Linked DNA regions of Homo sapiens: region 1 is linked to region 2. The links are contacts of gene promoters, found by promoter capture Hi-C in human tissues and cell types (Jung and others, 2019). All regions are on one chromosome and are shown on one strand. The core of a region is centred on a gene start or on the middle of the fragment in contact, and the rest is flanking DNA. Distances in the headings are between cores, read along the strand shown. Region 1 overlaps CRY2 (cryptochrome circadian regulator 2). Region 2 holds the start of CREB3L1 (cAMP responsive element binding protein 3 like 1).

The links. The method cuts DNA at HindIII sites, captures the fragments that hold promoters and counts their contacts. A contact is called where the count stands out against the background at its distance.
Region 1: a fragment that was not itself captured here is called in contact with the fragment with the promoter of CREB3L1 in region 2 in 1 of the 25 tissues and cell types used here (spleen).

What each region holds. Positions count from the first base shown.
Region 1 is chr11:45,869,349-45,873,259 of GRCh38, reverse strand. It overlaps CRY2 (cryptochrome circadian regulator 2), which reads right to left. Exons shown (of 12, transcript NM_021117.5): 7 at 3,443-3,754; 8 at 3,056-3,207; 9 at 2,728-2,930; 10 at 2,326-2,418; 11 at 1,027-1,168. The coding sequence ends at 1,029. Among named protein-coding and RNA genes, the nearest start is that of MAPK8IP1, 14 kb to the left of the region's middle. The HindIII fragment of the contact is 3,983 bases long and covers 191-3,911 here.
Region 2 is chr11:46,276,290-46,280,076 of GRCh38, reverse strand. CREB3L1 (cAMP responsive element binding protein 3 like 1) reads right to left here and starts at 2,415. Exons shown (of 12, transcript NM_052854.4): 1 at 1,864-2,415. The coding sequence starts at 1,965. The HindIII fragment of the contact is 8,009 bases long and covers 1-3,787 here.

The sequences.
Region 1 (3,911 bases), core at 933-3,432, 410 kb after region 2:
CCTATCAGCTCCATGGAGAAAAATCACCCTCCAATCTAATGACGAAGACATGGTGCATAAGGAACAGCTTGAGATGATGACTCAGAGGGGACAGGAATTTACATTTCCCCAAGAGTGGCATAAAAGGCCCTTCCTCCCTTGGGAAAGGAGAAGCCAGTGTTTTGATGACATTCAGGAGGCTTCCAAGATGAGCGCTGCCAGGGAGGTGCAGAGCTGAGGCCACAGGATGGGTGAGAAGGGAGGAGAGGCCGCAAAAGGCAAAGATGATGACAGACTGGGTCTACTGGTCCTCAGGCAGGGCTGGGCCAAGTAAGACACAGCACAGCCCTCTGTCCAGGCTTCTCAAGGTCAGTGCTGCCCTCCACTGGCTGGCCTATAGAACACAGCCTGTCGGAAAGCAGGGGGCCTGGAGCAGCCTCAGACCCTGCAATGCGCCTTTTCCCCGCTGCTTCACACGCAGGTCTCAGCTTTCTTTCTCTTGAGTGTGACTCATTTTAATAGGTAGAAAGCGCCACCCCTCAGCCCCCATGCCTCCCTTTTTCCCTTAGCTGGCAAAAAAATACAAAAGGGCTTGACTTTTAAATCTCTGATAAAAGTCAGAATGGTGGGATTTTTGAGCTGAAATCCTAAAAGTCATGCAGTCCCACCAGATTATTATTATTATTATTATTATGTTTTTAGAGATGGAGTCTCACTATGTTGGTTTGGCCAGGTTGGTCTTGTACTCCTGGCCTCAAGCGATCCTCCCACCTTGGCCTCCCAAAGTGCTGGGATTACATACATGAGCCACCATAGCCGGCCCAATGGTAAAGGTCACACAGATATCAACCAGAAAGTACTCATTCCCTAAGCCAGGATGGAACCCGGCTGCCACTGTAAAATGGTAAAGCTTTAGTGGCTGAGCATTGGGTGGTCCCACCAGATTTTCATCTAGTTTGCTATGTTTCAACCTGCAGCTGGCAGGGCAGTAGGCCCCCCCACTCCCAACTTCCTTCCTGAGGTTGAATCTAGGCTGCTGTCACTCACTCTCAGGCATCCTTGCTCGGCAGCTCTGGGGTTGGCAACTCTGCCACCCGGGCCCGTTTGCTGAGTTCTTCACCAGGTGGTTCCTCGGCTGCTTCCAGCTTGCGTTTGGGGGATGCTGGGCCACTGGGTAGTGGTCTTGGGCCTGTAGGGAAGCGTGTCAAAGGGTCACACAGACTGTGCATGCAGCCAAAATGATCCCACACTATGCAGCAGCAGCTCTTTAGGGGACAGGGAGCACACTTATCAATGGAATGCCAGCATGCTGCTCCTCAGACCTGCCCCTCGGCCTTGCTTTCAGCAGTGACTTTGCCTGGAAATGTCCAAGGAGGACATGACCAAGCAGGCCTGCTGGTAGCAGGACCAGCTTTTGGGCCCCAAATGGCATGGGCTGTGGCCAGAGACTGATTTGGCCTGCCTGCTGTCCTGCTTTGAAGGTGAGGCATTCCCTCTGCAACCCTGAATCAGCCTCCCCAAGCAGCAAAGAGCAGGGCCCCTGTGGAGGAGTCATGCTGCCCATGGAGGCAGCCTAGCTGGGCCAACTAGAAAAACCCGTGTTCTTCCCATCTCATGTTACTCATCTTCATCCCCAAGAAGGGAAGAGGCTCCGAATGCAGCGAATCTGTCCAGTCTTTCTCCTTGCGGCCACCACCCTGTCTGTGCTGCCTCCTCTCTGGCCTCCCTGTGCCCGCTCCGGCCTACACTGTCCAATCTCCACCCAGCAGGCCAGGGAGCTTTTTCAGACCTAAGTCCAATCATGCCCTGCCCTACTGACCATCCTTCAGTGCACTGAAGGCTGAATCCTAGTCCTCGTCTCGGACATCAGGCCTGCCACATGCTGCTCATGCTGTATCTTGTCCTCATCTCATTCCAGCTCCTCACTGGGACATGCCGCTACACTGACCTCCCTTCGGTTCCTTGAATGGACTAAGCTCGGTACTGTTTGTGAGCTTTTTCTTGCTACTCCCTTTGTCTGGAATGTTATTTTCTCAGTGTGTGGCAGGGCTGGCTCCTGCTCATGACGTGGGTCTCTGCTTAACAGAGGTGTTCCCTGACTGCTCCAATCTCAAGTGACACAGAAGAAATCCTTCTTTCCCAGTCCCTCTGTCAAGATACTCAACTTTCTTTTCCTCCAAAGCACTTGTTATCTGAAATGATCCAACTTGGTTTCTTTACTATCTGACTGCCCCAGGTGGAATATAAGCTCCACTGGGCAAGGCCTCCTTCTGGCCTCAGTCCTGAATGACTGAAGTGGTGGCACAGGCCACAGGAGGCCACAGGAGGTTGGTTGCTGCTGCTCACCTGCACTGCTCATGCTGCCAGCCTGGCTCGAGCTGGGCTCTGCCACAGGGTGACTGAGGTCTTCCACACAGGAAGGGACAGATGCCAGTAGACCTGGGAGAGAGGCGAGGAGTAATCAGAGTGCCGTCTCGCAGGATTGCAGAGGGCTACAGGGCAGGATGAAGCAAGTGGGGGTGGGGAGGGTAGGAGCAAGACACTGAGGTTCCATTTCCTCCCACAGCCCCACAACTACTCAGGAAGGCCCAGTTCATCCCAGCCTGCAGTGTCCCATACCCAGCGAAGGTGTCAACCTGAAAGACAGCACTCAGTCTCCCTTTGCAAGTATCTGGACATCCCCATCTGGCCCCCTGAGCCTGTAGGTGCTGTCCTTCCCTTCAGTGAGCTAGGTGTTTGTCTCCTTACAGAGTCCCCGGTAGCGCGAAAGCTGCTGGTAAATCTGCTTCATTCGTTCAATGTTAAGCCGGCTGGTCTCGGCATGGTTGACGATGGGCCGTGGGTAGTCCACACCAATGATGCACTTGGCTGCCTTCTGAATTGACTCTGGGGCATTCCAGGGCTCATAGATGTATCGAGAGGGGAACGCTTTCAATTTGGGCAGGTATCGCCTGAAATAAGATACACCAGATGACCCATCAGCATACCCAGACCCTCCTTCAAAAGGCCCAGGGTATCCCATCCTAGTAGGAGGCCACAGTGGTCAGAGGCCAGAGAGCCTGGTCTGTATCCTCACCTGATGTAGTCCCCACTGGGGTCCGTGCGACGGCCAAAGCCCACAGGGCAGTAGCAGTGGAAGAACTGCTGGAAGAAAGCACTGCAGGACAGCCACATCCAGCTGCCTGCGTTCACGCTGAAATCTGCATCCAGGAGCAGCTCATCAAATACCTAGATAGGGGAGGGGATGATCAGCCTCCTTGGGGACATGCAGCCATGTTTTTTCCCAAGTCACCACAGTGCCCCCAGGAGCCAAAACCCTTCCATTGAAGGCAAGCCACAGAGGATCTGGAGGGGATCTCCTGGACCCAGAAATCCCACCTCATCCCTCAGCCCAGAAGGGGGCTGCCCTTTGACGGGCCTGACCAGAGGGTACAGGCCAGCTTTTCGTTGAGAGAGCACTCACCCGGACCCCGCTCTCCCAGCTGACCCAGAGGTCCCCGCGGGTCAGGAAGCAGGCCACGGCATGCCGGGCCAGGTGGTGGATCCAGCCCTCCTGCCTCAGTTGGGTCATGATGGCATCAATCCAAGGGAAGCCTGTCTTGCCCTCAGCCCACTTGGCCAGGGCCTCAGGATTGCGGTCCCAGGGGATCTGGATGCAGATGGGGTTCCCCTCCATGCGGTCAAACCTGGGGTTGTTGGTAGCTGCCGTGTAGAAGAACTCTCGCCATAGGAGTTGCCCAAATAGGGAGAGGGGAGGTGTGCTGTTCCGCTTCACCTGAGAGGTAGGGGTGGCACATGGATACAAACACTCGCCCAGCTCTTAGCATGGTGCCTCTCAGGTCTCTTCTACAAAGGAATCTGGGCCCTCCAAAGACCTAGTGGCTCAGCTGCCAGATGTGGAGGGACTATCCCCTAGAAGTGGCACAGCATGC
Region 2 (3,787 bases), core at 1,166-3,665:
TTCTCTCTTTCCTTAGGCACCCCATCTTCTCCCGCTGCCTCTCCTGGCGCTGCCCCAGGTGCGAGATCAGGAGCCTCCCCAGCAGGGCTTTTCCTCCCCAGTGTCCTAGTGCTGGATCCCACTGTCTGGTCGTGCCTCTTTTCCTGTGCTGGACCAAGGCCCAGATAAGCAGCTGGGGATGCAGGGCTGAATGGAGCAGCAGGAAGAGGCTTCGGGCGGCCGAGTTCATTCAGAAGAAAGCCCAACTCAGAGCTGCCAAGGGCCGAGAGAAGCTTACTGCAGGGCTCTACTGCCCTGCTTGACTTCAAGGGTCCGAGCTCTGACAAACCTCTTTCCCTCTGACTAGTGTCTTTTACCAGCTTCAAGAGGAGGTGTGGATCCCCCGATCCCTGCTGCTTTATTCCTGGGATCTGTGCCAGAACCATCTATAGGAAGACCTGATCCAACCTCTCCCCCATTTTACAGACAAAGAAACTGAGGCTCAGGGAGGAGAGCCAGTGGTAGGGGCCAAGCTCACAGGGGAAGCAGAGCCAGGACTAGAAACCAAGTCTCGCTGCAGTCAATGCAAGCCCTCTGCCCTTATACCCTTGTCTTGTCTGCTGAATTATGCTCTCTCTGCCTGGGACAGGGGCCTTCCTCAGAGCGCAGGGTGACCAGGATGTGCTGCTTAATGGAGAACAGGGAGACCTCAGCCCCCATGCCTCCTTGACTCCGGCTCCTGTCCCTTGGCCTGGTTCCTCACCATCAATCTAGTGGCCTGGGACAGTTTAGGTGGAAGTCCAAGATGCTCAAGTCCTCTAAGGACTTGACTCTTGCCTGGCCAAGTTTATCTTGGTCCTGGGAGGTAGAGGTCAGCAGGTAAAGAGTCTCAAGTGCTTGATCACAGGGTGTGTGTGTGTGTGTGGCGTGTGAACAGGCATGCACACGCAACTGGTGGTTCACTGAAGAGGGGGCTCCCACTAGACTCCCCAAACAATCCACATTTCATCTGGGCAGGCCCTTCTGAACCCAAATATTTTCTCCCATTCTAAGTCCGTGCCCCTCCCCCATCAAGGCCTTAGGGCTGAGCCTGAGAGAGGGAGGGAGGGAAGAAGAGAGAGAAGCCACGTTTCCTTAGGGAGGGAGGGGAAGAGTGAGAAAGAGGAGAAAGACAAGCTCACAGTCGGACCTAGTCAAGAAGACATAGGGAGAGGGAGAAAGTCAGCCAGACTCCAGGAACAGAGGGACAGAGCAGAGATCTAGAGGCAGATGGAGAGAAATGGCTCCCTCCTCCTGAGCCATCACCCTATGTTGCCCTGACCGCCTCTTCCCAGCCCCCAGCCTCAGGTCCCTCCCTGGGGTGGGGGGTCTCTGGGCCTGATTCCCTGGGGCTGCCAGGGTAGCACCCTGAAATTTCTGGGCCTGGCTTCCCCGAGGGGTCGGGTCTCAGGCCCTCTGAACGTTCCCCGGTGCGCCCCCCAGCGGAGATCCAGCCTATGAGCCACCGAAGCCCCAAGGGAGGCGCAGGAAAGGGCGCTGCCACTTTGCGCCCAGTCTGGTCCTGGAACCTGGGGTGGGTTGGGGACGGCTAGAAGACGTGGGTGGAGGGCGGGATTGGTGTCTCTTGAGCTCAGATCCGAGGATCGGACGGACCCGATACCTCGATGGCCCCTTCCCCCTAGAAGGTGGAGGCCAGTGTATTCAAAGATTGAGCCCCCAGGAGGGGCGCTTAGCTCCAAACACATGTCGCTCCTGGAGACCCTGCGCTGAACCCTCTCCCCGGCTCCTGCCCAGTGATGTGTAGTCGGGTCCTTCTAGGGGCCCAGGCGCGCCGCGAGGACGGGTGCCGAGGGGTGGAACGGGAACGGAGACCCTTCATCTTACCGCATTGTTGAGGAAGTCCGACTCGTTCAGATCCCCCAAGTCCAGGAAGCTGGATCCGGGGAACAGCCTGTCGGCCGGGAAGGGTTCCAAGACGGCGTCCATCGCAGCCGGCTCCCGGGACCCCCTTCCACTGGGCTTCCCTCACTCCAGGGCGGCGGCGCGCCCAGTCCAGAGCTCCTGCCTGAGCGCTGGCAAACGGGCGGGGGGCAGGTCCGGGGCGAAGCCCCGGGGGAGGGGCGGACGGAGGCGGCGCGGCCCCGGGTGGGGGGCGCGGGGCGCGCGGGGGCCTTAGGGCAGCGGCTAGGAGCGGGATGGGCTCAGGGGCCCCGGGCGCACCGTGGGCATTCAGCCGACTCCACCTCCTCCTGCTCCTCCTGGGGCACAGCTGGCTTCCATGGGGAGCCCGGGGTTGGGGCTGAGGGCTTCAGGAGCCCCCCGGACAGGGTGGGAGCCGGGGCGGGGGAGCTAAGTGCTCCCCCGAGACTGGGTGGCTGCCGGCCTCTCCTCTGTCTCTGCGTCTCCCTCCGCACGTCTTCTGTCACTTTCCTCTCTGTGAAACCGGGAACCCCTGGCTGGCTAGCCCAGCTGGCCAAGGCGCCACGCCCCCACATCAATATTCACAATAATTTAATATTAATGAGAAGAGGGCGTGGCTCGAGGAATCCTCTCTCCTTTTTTAAAGAGACATCTGCAACTTCGTCTTAGTAATCTCTCTTCTCTGAATGCTCAAGGTGGGGGCTTAAAGCAACAATAGTCCTGGAACCGATAACAGTGTTCCTGGAACATTGGCATTTTAAGGCTTCACCAACCACTGTCCCGTAAATTGATGAGGGAGCTATTTCCATCCTTCCAGCCTTATACTAAAGCCTGCACGAAACCCAGTCAGGGAATTCCATTTCACAGTCCCCTCAACAGATCTCCCCTCAACGGGGGAGATTTTCAGCTTTTTAAAAATTTTATTTATTATTATTACTATTTTTTTGACACGGAGTTTCGCTCTTTTTGCCCGGGCTGGGGTGCAATGGTGTGTTCTCGGCTCACTGCAACCTCCGCCTCCCAGTTTCAAACGATTCTCCTGCCTCAGCCTCCTGAGCACCTGGAATTACAGGCGCGCCCCACCACGCCCAGCTAATTTTTGTATTTTTAGTAGGGACGGGGTTTCACCATGTTGGCCAGGCTCCTCTGGAACTCCTAACCTCAGGTGATCCGGCCTCCTTGGCCTCCCAAAGTGCTGGGATTACAGGTGTGAGCCACCATGCCCAGCCGATTTTCAGCTTGTAACTCTCATTTCTCATCTCACCTGTTTCTTCTTCCAGGAAGCCTTCCCTGAACCCCCAGGCTGGAGCAGTTACCAACGGTATACACCCACAGGGCATCATGTGCTCACCTCCACTGTTTCCAGTCTAATGTGGTATTGTCCTTATTTGCTCACATTGTTTGTATCTGTGACCCCACTGAGCTGTGAGGCTCCTCAGGGCAAGGACAGTCCCCAGCTTCCCTCTGTGTGAAAGGGCTGGGTGAACAGCCAGAGATAGGAGAGTCCCCCTCTTCTCCTCGATAGTCAAGTCCCTCCCTACCCCCCAATGGTTCTGAAGAGCAGGAAGTTGGAAAACAGTGGTTCTGGAATCTGAATGAGCCAAGGTGCTGGCTGGCTGCACACTCCACAGTCACCAGACACTCCCAGGGCCCCGGGATCCATTACCTAAGTGGCTTGCTCCTGCGTACAAACTTAATCTCTTGAAAGGGCTGATAGCAATCGCCAAGCACCTGAACAAATGGAGGTGGTTCAGAAAGGCACTCCCTCAGAGGGCTGGGCACACTGTTTCCTGACCAGAAGTTATTAATAAGATTAAGCATGTCCTTTCTGTCTGGGACGTTTAATTAGCTCAGGAACCAAAGGCCTTTAAGAGGTAGAGATGTCATT